Linked DNA regions of Homo sapiens: region 1 is linked to region 2. Evidence: promoter capture Hi-C in 16 types of primary human blood cells and fetal thymus (Javierre and others, 2016). All regions are on one chromosome and are shown on one strand. Each heading gives the region's core, a stretch centred on a gene start or on the middle of the fragment in contact. The rest is flanking DNA. Distances are from core to core; before and after follow the strand shown. Region 1 has its middle 36 kb from the start of RNF6. Region 2 holds the start of WASF3 (WASP family member 3).

Region 1 (3,894 bases), core at 627-3,126, 370 kb after region 2:
GTGCTTGAACTGAAGAGGCAGAGGTTGCAGTGAGCCGAGATCATGCCACTCCAGCCTGGCAACAGAGTGAGACTTCATCTCAAAAAAAAAAAAAAAAAAAAAAAAAAAAAAGCTCTTTTGACTTGTCCAACTAAAGCCCCCACTAAAAGGGAGAGAACAGCTGCAGCTTTCACCTAAACTCCCCTCAGTCTTCACTTCTGTGTGTCACCTGCTTCTGGCTTATGCAGTGACTGGAATTTTTGGTTATATTTGTTTTGGAAAGTAAAATGTAAATTCAGCCAGACTCTTGATAATTCCAGTAGTTATTCAACAGTGATCAGTGCGTTTTGACTACAGATTCACTGGTCTCAAGAGTCAGTTGCCCTTCCTCTGTGCCACAATTAAGTCCTTGTCTATGTCTGTCACAAGTGGGGTGGAGGATGGGGTAGAAGGGGAGGGATATTGTTATAATTGCCTCCCTTGCCACCATCAGCACTTCTCACCTGTCCTTGTGAACCACCAGTTTACACTTATAGAATCTAGTTTTGCATCAGCAATTGAGGTCACTTCGCCTTGGAGCCACTGCATCAATCTGAAAGTCTCCATGAGCCACAAGACAGTTGTGATGGTCTGGATGGCAGCCTGCAAATGAGCAGTTACACTCTCTAGAATTCCTAGACTATTAGGGCTGAAGGGACCTTGGATATTAACAGGTTCAAGTCCATTTCACCCAGATGATGAAACTGATGCCCAGACACCTACAGAATCTTGTTTTAGATCACTTGTTGACTTCTAGTTCTATTTTTTGACACCTAGTGTCCAGTGTGCTTTACACTTCAGGCCACTGTGGTCTCAAATAGAGCTAGGAACCAGGTGTGGTGGCACACGCCTGTAGTCCCAGCTAGTTGGGAGGCTGAGGCAGGAGGACTGCTTAAGCCCAACAGTTCAAGGCTGCAGTGAGCTAAGATTGCACCACTGCACTCCATCCTGGGCAACAGATAGAGACTGTCTTAAAAAACCCCCAAAATCAAATAGAGCTGGGGCTAAACATTTAATAAACTCCAGCCTCTGGAGTCCAAGAGATCTGCATTTGAATCCTGACTTTGCCACTGATTGGCAATAAGACCTTGGGTACGTTACTTAACCATTAACATACCCACTAAGTCACCCAATAAGCTTCCAGAACTTGGCCTAATCCCTGGGGAGGGGACCGCAGGAAGAACTAGGGTAATTTTTCTTTTATAACCAGTTCACCAGAGGGGGCCAGGGAAGGGTGGTCGTATGTAGCCCAGAGGAGTCAGAAATTCACCTGAAATCCAGAAAAGAGGCATTTTTCTTGCACACCAGAGCTCACGGGCTGACATTCTCACACTGGACATCCCAGTAAGCCTCCTGCTCCGCGATCCCCAAGGCCATCAGCCTTGCCTGACCTCCAAACGTTTCCCCCTTCTTGTGCCGGCTTAATTTTCCAGGGCTTTCCCCCTTTCTATTCGTCTCCTATCAGGTTCCCGGTCCGAAGGCTAGGACGCCCCACGTCGCAGCCAGGAGCAGAGGCGCCCAAGGTGGCGGTACAAGCCGTCTTCAGGCCTGTGGCCCCACTGATGGCAGAAACAGGAAGCGGGGACAGCCCCAGTCCCGGACCTCAGGCCAAGCAAGGCTCTAGAAAGGTCCCTGACGCTTGCCGGGCGCGGTGGCTCATGCCTGTAATCTCAGCACTTTGGGAGGCCGAGGTGGGTGGATCACGAAGTCAGGAGATCGAGACCATCCTGGCTAACACGGTGAAACCCCGTCTCTACTAAAAATACACAAAATTAGCCGGGCGTGGTGGCGGGCGCCTGTAGTCCCAGCTACTCGGGAGGCTGAGGCAGGAGAATGGCGTGAACCTGGGAGGCGGAAATTGCAGTGAGCCGAGATCGCGCCACTACACTCCAGCCTGGGCGACAGAACGAGACTCCGTCTCAAAAAAAGAAAAAAAAAAAAAGAAGAAGAAAGGTCCCTGACGCTTCCCTGCCCTCCCCGGAGCCGGCGCTCTAGCGCCCCCGGGATCGACGGTCAGCACAGCGAAGGAACGCGCTACCTGTGGCCGAAGGTATAGCGCCGCTGCGGGCCCTGTGAGAGCTGAGAAGACGACGGCGGCCGAGGAGGCCCAATTCCGAGGCTCGGCCCCGTCAGGGTCCGCGCTGGCGGTGTGCGCGTGTACGTGCGCTCGTGCACGTGCATGTGTGTGCGCGCGCCCTAACAGACCTGCTCCGAAGCGTCTCCGCTGACTGCCAGTCGGTAGCGCGACTGGCTGCGGGGCCCACGTGCCACGCAGACGCCCCCCGGCGCGTCCCGCTCTTGCTCTGCGGCCCAACGAGCGCGTTCCTGCCGCGGGACAGCCTTGCAGAGAAACGCGGTCTTACACACGCACTGGCCTCCCGGTCTGGGTTTTTAACTGCTCAAAGCTCCACGCGCCCTGGCGTCTCCACACGGCACTCCAGATGTGTCAGATTTCCAGAAATGTTTTGATCGCTTGCTTTCACTTCTCTTTTTAAGATCTGTTTTTGAACTTTTCCTCTGCGTTGTGTGTATCATGACTCTGACACGTTTTAGGGCCGCGAGGCGGGTGATGAAGCTTTGACATGGGCGCCTTGGTGAATGACCTGAATTCTTACTCCCGAGTAAATCGTCTGACTGGCTTCCCTATCGCATTTTAGGGTTAAAACATACATTTTGTGTTTGTTTCATATCTATGTTTATGTAGACTGCAAGTTTCATAAGGGCACGGGGTGGGAGGGGCTATGGCTCTTTTGCCTCTTACTGTATTTTCAGAACCTAGCAGAAGCTAGGACATAGTGTGTGTTCTCTAAATAGATATTGAATGTGAGGGAGGAAGGAACTTTCCAGAAGTGTGACCTTTGGTTTTGGAAAGGCACAAGGTTCGTAGTTAGGCGTAGAGAACACAAGTTTAGAATCATGGCCTCTACACTTCTGTTGACAATGCATTACTTTAAGTAACAACTTTTTTTTGAGACAGGGTTTCGCTCGTTTTGCCCAGGCTGGAGTGCAGTGGCACGATCTCGGCTCACTGCAACCTCCGCCTCCCGGGTTCAAGCGATTCTCCTGCCTCAGCCTCCCAAGTAGCTGTGATAACAGGCGCCTGCCACCACGCCAGGCTAATTTTTTGTATTTTTAGTAGAGACGGGGTTTCACCATGTTGGCCAGGATAGTCTCGATCTCTTGACCTCGTGATCCGCCCACCTCGGCCTCCCAAAGTGCTGGGATTACAGGCGTGAGCCACTGTGCCCAGCCAAGTAACAACTTTTTTTAAAAAAAATGCACTTCAAATGTATATGTATATGTATTTATTTATAAGTTATAAAAATGTAATGCATGCTCATATATATATTTATGTATTATTACAAAGAGCACACCAAATAGAAATTTTAAAAAGCTAAAATAAAAATAATACCTTGGTCGGGGATGATGGCTCATGCCTGTAACTCCAGCACTTTTGGAGGCCGAGGCGGTCAGATAGCTTGAGCCCATTAGTTCGAGACCAGCGTGGGCAGCATAGTGAGATCCCATCTGTACAAAAAATAATTTGAAAAAATTAGCCGGGCATGGTGGTGTGCGCCTGTTGTCCCAGCTGCTTGGGAGGCTGAGGTGGGAGAATGGCTTGATCCTGGGAAGTTGAGGCTGCAATGAACCGTGTTTGTGCCACTTCACTACAGCTTGGGGTGGCTGAGTGAAATCCTGTCTTAATAGTCAATCAATCAATCAATCAATAAAATGATAACAATACCTACAAGTTCTAAAATAATTTCCTGCAGCGCACTTTGGAGCTCACTAGGTAGACAGTTTGTAGGGAGAGGGCTGCCCTCTACTGGTGGAGGGCAGCTAAGGACATTTGCTTTGGATCGCCTGCCTTCTGCA
Region 2 (4,387 bases), core at 364-2,863:
TATAATAGTTGACCAAACTTTCCAATATTTAAACATGTGAAAAGACACAGCTTTTGTGAATACCAACTAAGAAAATCTTTCAAGATGAAGAAAAATGAGTACTACACTGAAGTCATTAGAACCCTGGGAGAAGGGAGCTGGAGAGGACACAATGAGAATGCCTTTGGGAAAGGTCAAACCCAGCTTTCGTTTGTTTAACCTCTCAAGCAGATAAAAGAACTAGCTTTAAAGAACCACTGCATTGTTTAACTGCTAGAAAAGGAGAGTTGGGTAAAGCACATATAAAAAGAAGCAATAGAATTTGCCCTAGAGACAATAGAAAGATTAGTCAATTACAATACTTTGAACTTAGTTTTGATAGAGTCGCATTTTAAGCTTTAGATAAACCTAATTTTTAAGATGCAAAATATTTCAAATAGCTATCCTCTCCCCCTTATAAAAAGTAGACTCTGAATCTTAAAATACCATGTTCTGCTATGCATTTAATTTGAAGAACTGCGAAAAGTAGTCTTTTTAATTTTCAGTTTTTGAAAACTCGAGACTGTTGCTGGAAGTAAACCGCTAATTTAAAAATTAACCTTAAAATGAGAAAGAATTCCTATGATGCTCCCATTGATCCCTAAGCCCATCACATAGTTTCTGAATAATTAAGAACTCTCGTCTCCACCAGGGAACTCTCCCTTGCAGAGGGGCCAAATCAAGAAGCAATCGCCATTGCACGTCAGCACCACAAACTGAGAGGAAGCTTCTGCCCTCGCTAAAGCCCAGGCGCGCGGGTAAAGACCCCCGGGGATGATACCCCGCGCGCCGCGGCTCCGTGCGCGCGGTCCCCCGCACTCGCGGGCCGCCCCACCTCCTCCCCTGCACTCCAAGAGTCCGGCCTGGTCTCCGAGGCCGGGAGCCACGCGGCACCGCAGCCTCGAGGGAGAGGACGCCCGCAACCAACACGCACGCGGGCACCAAGAGGGCACAGGCCAGGGCGGCGAGGGCCGAATGGGGCCGGGGGGCACGCGGAGCTGGACCAGAACCAGCGAGGGCGCGCAGACACTGAACGGATGCGAAGGTCCCGGACGCGGAGCGGCCCGGGGCGTCGTGCGTGGGGCGCGAGCGGAGGCCCGGGCGCCACTTACGGCGGGGAGGGCGGGTGGCTGTCCCGAGTCCAGGGAGCGCGCACCGGACGGCAAAGGGCCGGAGGCCCGGAGGCGCGGGAGAGAAGGGCCGCCTGGCCGCGCCGTGACGGCGAGAAGCCCCTGCCAGCGCGGGAGCCGGCCGGGAGAATGCGGCCGGGCTGCAGGGATAGGCGCGAGGCGGCGCCGCAGCCCGCAGTGGGCCCCGCCGCCCGGCCGGAGCGCGCGGCGATGCAGCAACTTCAGTTCGCCGTGGGGCCGCCCCTCCCCCGACAGCCGCCCGGCCCGGAGCCGAGAGGGCCACAGCAGCCTACAGCGGAGAGCCGGGGCGACCGCAGCCCTCACTCACCGGTCCGCGGTCCCGCCGCCGGCGCCGGGGCTGCGCTCTGAGCTCCATGGTCCCGCCGCGCCGCGGCCGCCCGGCGCACCCGCCTCGCACCACACCGCACGCAGCGGCGCGAGCGACGCCGCCTCCGGCCCGTCCACGGCCGCGGCCACGCCCCCTCCCGGCGGGGGGGCTCGGCCGGAGCAGGAGGGGGGCTCAGTGCCGGCTCCACCAACCAGGGCCAACTCACGGGGCCGCTTCACCAGGATTGGCGAGTGCCTCGGCCAATAGGGAGCCGGCGAGCGCGCTGAGCGACGGTGCCGAGGGGCGGGGGATTGCGGAGGCGGTGGCTCTCACCCTTGGTCCTCCGCCCCCAGCTCGGGATGAGGCTTAGGCAGCGTCCTTTCCAGCGAGGAGAGGTGGGGATACTTCGGGCCAAGAGACCCTTGTATCACCTCTGATTGCTAGGTGCCCATTACAGTACCTTTGAGTTTGCGCTTATATCCTAATCCTCCCTGGGTGTTGAGGGCTCCTGCACAGAGGTCCTCTACCTGTAAGGTGTCAGACGTCCTCCAGGGCTGAGGCTTCAGGCAACCCTGAGAGGACTGTAGCCCTGTTCATGGGTTGGTTTTATGCCCTGCTCAAATTCGTTAGCATTCTTAAAATCTTCCCATCTCCTTCAACACAGATTCTTCTGTTTTTATCACCCTATAACCAATCTCTCTCCACCCTAGATGTGAGGAAATCCACAATACTTATTAAAACTAAGATATCCCTGAAACTGCCAGCTAAGCCCTGCCACAGTGGAACATAGCCACGTGCGACCAGATGACTGAGGCATAAACAAACTTAAGAAAAAGAAAGGAGGAAAGGAAAGGAAGAGAAGAAAAGATAGAAAAGCCAAGATAGAAAAGCTAGGTCACAAAGGAAAGGGGTTTAAAAACATCTAATAGAAATGTTACCTTTATTTTAATTTGCATGCCTTTATTCTTTTTATTTACCAATAGGATCACTAAATTGAAAAACTTTTAGGAAAAAATTTTAAATTCTAATGAATAGTTCAAGAAACACTAATTCAAGTTGGTTTGCTCTTTTCTTTACAGATGTGTAATAATGATCAACATCTAGCTAGAGACAACTAAAAGTTGGAAAAAATGAATAGCAGTTAATAATTTCACCAAAGTTTGCAACACCAGAAATGCAGTAGAAAAATCATGCAGCCCTCTTCATAAAATGTCTAATCTATTAACCTGCATTACTTCCAAAGGAGGGATTTTAAAAGCTCTTTTTAAAGATGACGTATATTCAGTTTCCATAAAGTGCCATCATTTTAAAAAATTGCTGGTAATTAACAAGGTAAACAGGATTTTGGTGAATAATTACAGTGACCCAGTATTTTAAATATTGATACTAGAGTGACAAATGTCTGCTGAATTGAAAGCTAAATTGGCATTCAAATTAAAATGACTTTCCTTCATTTCATCTTCACTTACCCAGGGGAATGGCTTCCATGTCTATGTTTAGGTCATTAATTTAGAACTCAAAAATATGAAAGTATAGATACCCAGAGTGTTTTCAAGGTTGCTAATCATATTTCCCTGGCTGCTTCCCTCTTCGGTGACCCCAGCCTTATAAACCGCTGCTACACTTAGTTTGCACTCACTGTTAGCCCTTAAACACATCATCCCAAAGTGTTCAGGTTTGTTTCATATAGGTCAGTCTTACCTCTCTAATTAGATCATCAGTTCCATGAGGATAAGGCCCTTATTTTACAGTCCTCTTTCCTCCTTTTATAATGCCTAGTACAGTGCTGAGCATGTGGTAAATATGATTCTATTCCTAGTGTTGTGGTTCATGGTACAAATAAATTATTTCAAATATGGTCTTGTGTGAACCAGTCCTTTAAATAAAAACTGCTTAGAGCAGTCTTGTTAGAGGATTAGAGCCCACCGCTAATAAGTGCCTCATCCTTAATAAAATGTTGCTGCATCAGGGAGTGAATTGGTGACCTGTAACAGAATCTTGACTAAAAGTGCCTACTAAATAGGAGTGCTTCTTATCACAAAACCAGAAACCTGGAGACAGCCACAGGGCTTCTGTAATATCTCTTCTATGGTGTCGTTGTGTCTCAGGCTCTTTCTAGCCATTGTCTCTGCTATCCTTGTCATGTGATCTCTGTCTTCATCCTCACAGGATGCCTGCTTCCCTTGTAAGCATTGCATCACATTGAGGAAAATGGTAGGGGGATGGGTAAAGGGCAAAAGATCAAAGAGGTGCATGCCCAGTTGGGTCTGCATCTTCCTGGGAAGCTTTACCCAGCACCTTCTGCTTGCATTTTATTGGCCAGCCACATGTCACATGACCACCTTTAGCTGCAAAGGAGTCTGAAATGCTAAGTATTTAAAGTTGGGGCATTGGCTGGAGGAATATTAGAGTTTTGTTAGTAATGGAAAAGAGGAATGCAGACCTTGGGTATGAGAGTGGCAGTACCTGATGTAGTTGCTGAATAAATGAATTCATGATTGAGCCCTCACTCTATTTATTCATAAGACCCACTTTTTTAAAAAGGCCACTCAGGTGTCAATTAAAAAACAATCCAATTTTCAAGTGAGCAAAAGATCTAAACAGACACCTCCCTAAAGTGGAGTTGACAATACACAGATGGCAAATAAACATGCTCAATATCATGTGTCATTAAGGAATTGCAAATTAAAACAAAAATGAAATACTATGACATACCTACTAGGATGGCTAAAATAAAAAAGCTAACGGCAACAACAACAAAAAACCTAAGGATACCAAATACTGGCAAGGATACAAAACAACAGGAATGCCCATCCATTGCCGATGGGAATGCAAAATGGTACGACCACTTTGGAAGACAGTCTGGCAGTTTCTCACAAAGCTAAGCATAGTCTCACAATTCAGTCCAGCC

Evidence for each region. The method cuts DNA at HindIII sites, captures the fragments that hold promoters and counts their contacts. A CHiCAGO score of 5 or more calls a contact.
Region 1: a fragment that was not itself captured here is called in contact with the fragment with the promoter of WASF3 in region 2 in 1 of 17 cell types (megakaryocytes); the score reaches 5.8 in megakaryocytes.

What each region holds. Positions count from the first base shown.
Region 1 is chr13:26,184,841-26,188,734 of GRCh38, reverse strand. It overlaps a transcript of RNF6 not described here. Among named protein-coding and RNA genes, the nearest start is that of RNF6, 36 kb to the left of the region's middle. RefSeq lists enhancers at 2,321-2,370, 2,421-2,590. The HindIII fragment of the contact is 1,438 bases long and covers 1,158-2,595 here.
Region 2 is chr13:26,554,909-26,559,295 of GRCh38, reverse strand. WASF3 (WASP family member 3) reads right to left here and starts at 1,613. Exons shown (of 10, transcript NM_006646.6): 1 at 1,477-1,613. RefSeq lists silencers at 1,510-1,719, 1,980-2,039. The HindIII fragment of the contact is 3,016 bases long and covers 748-3,763 here.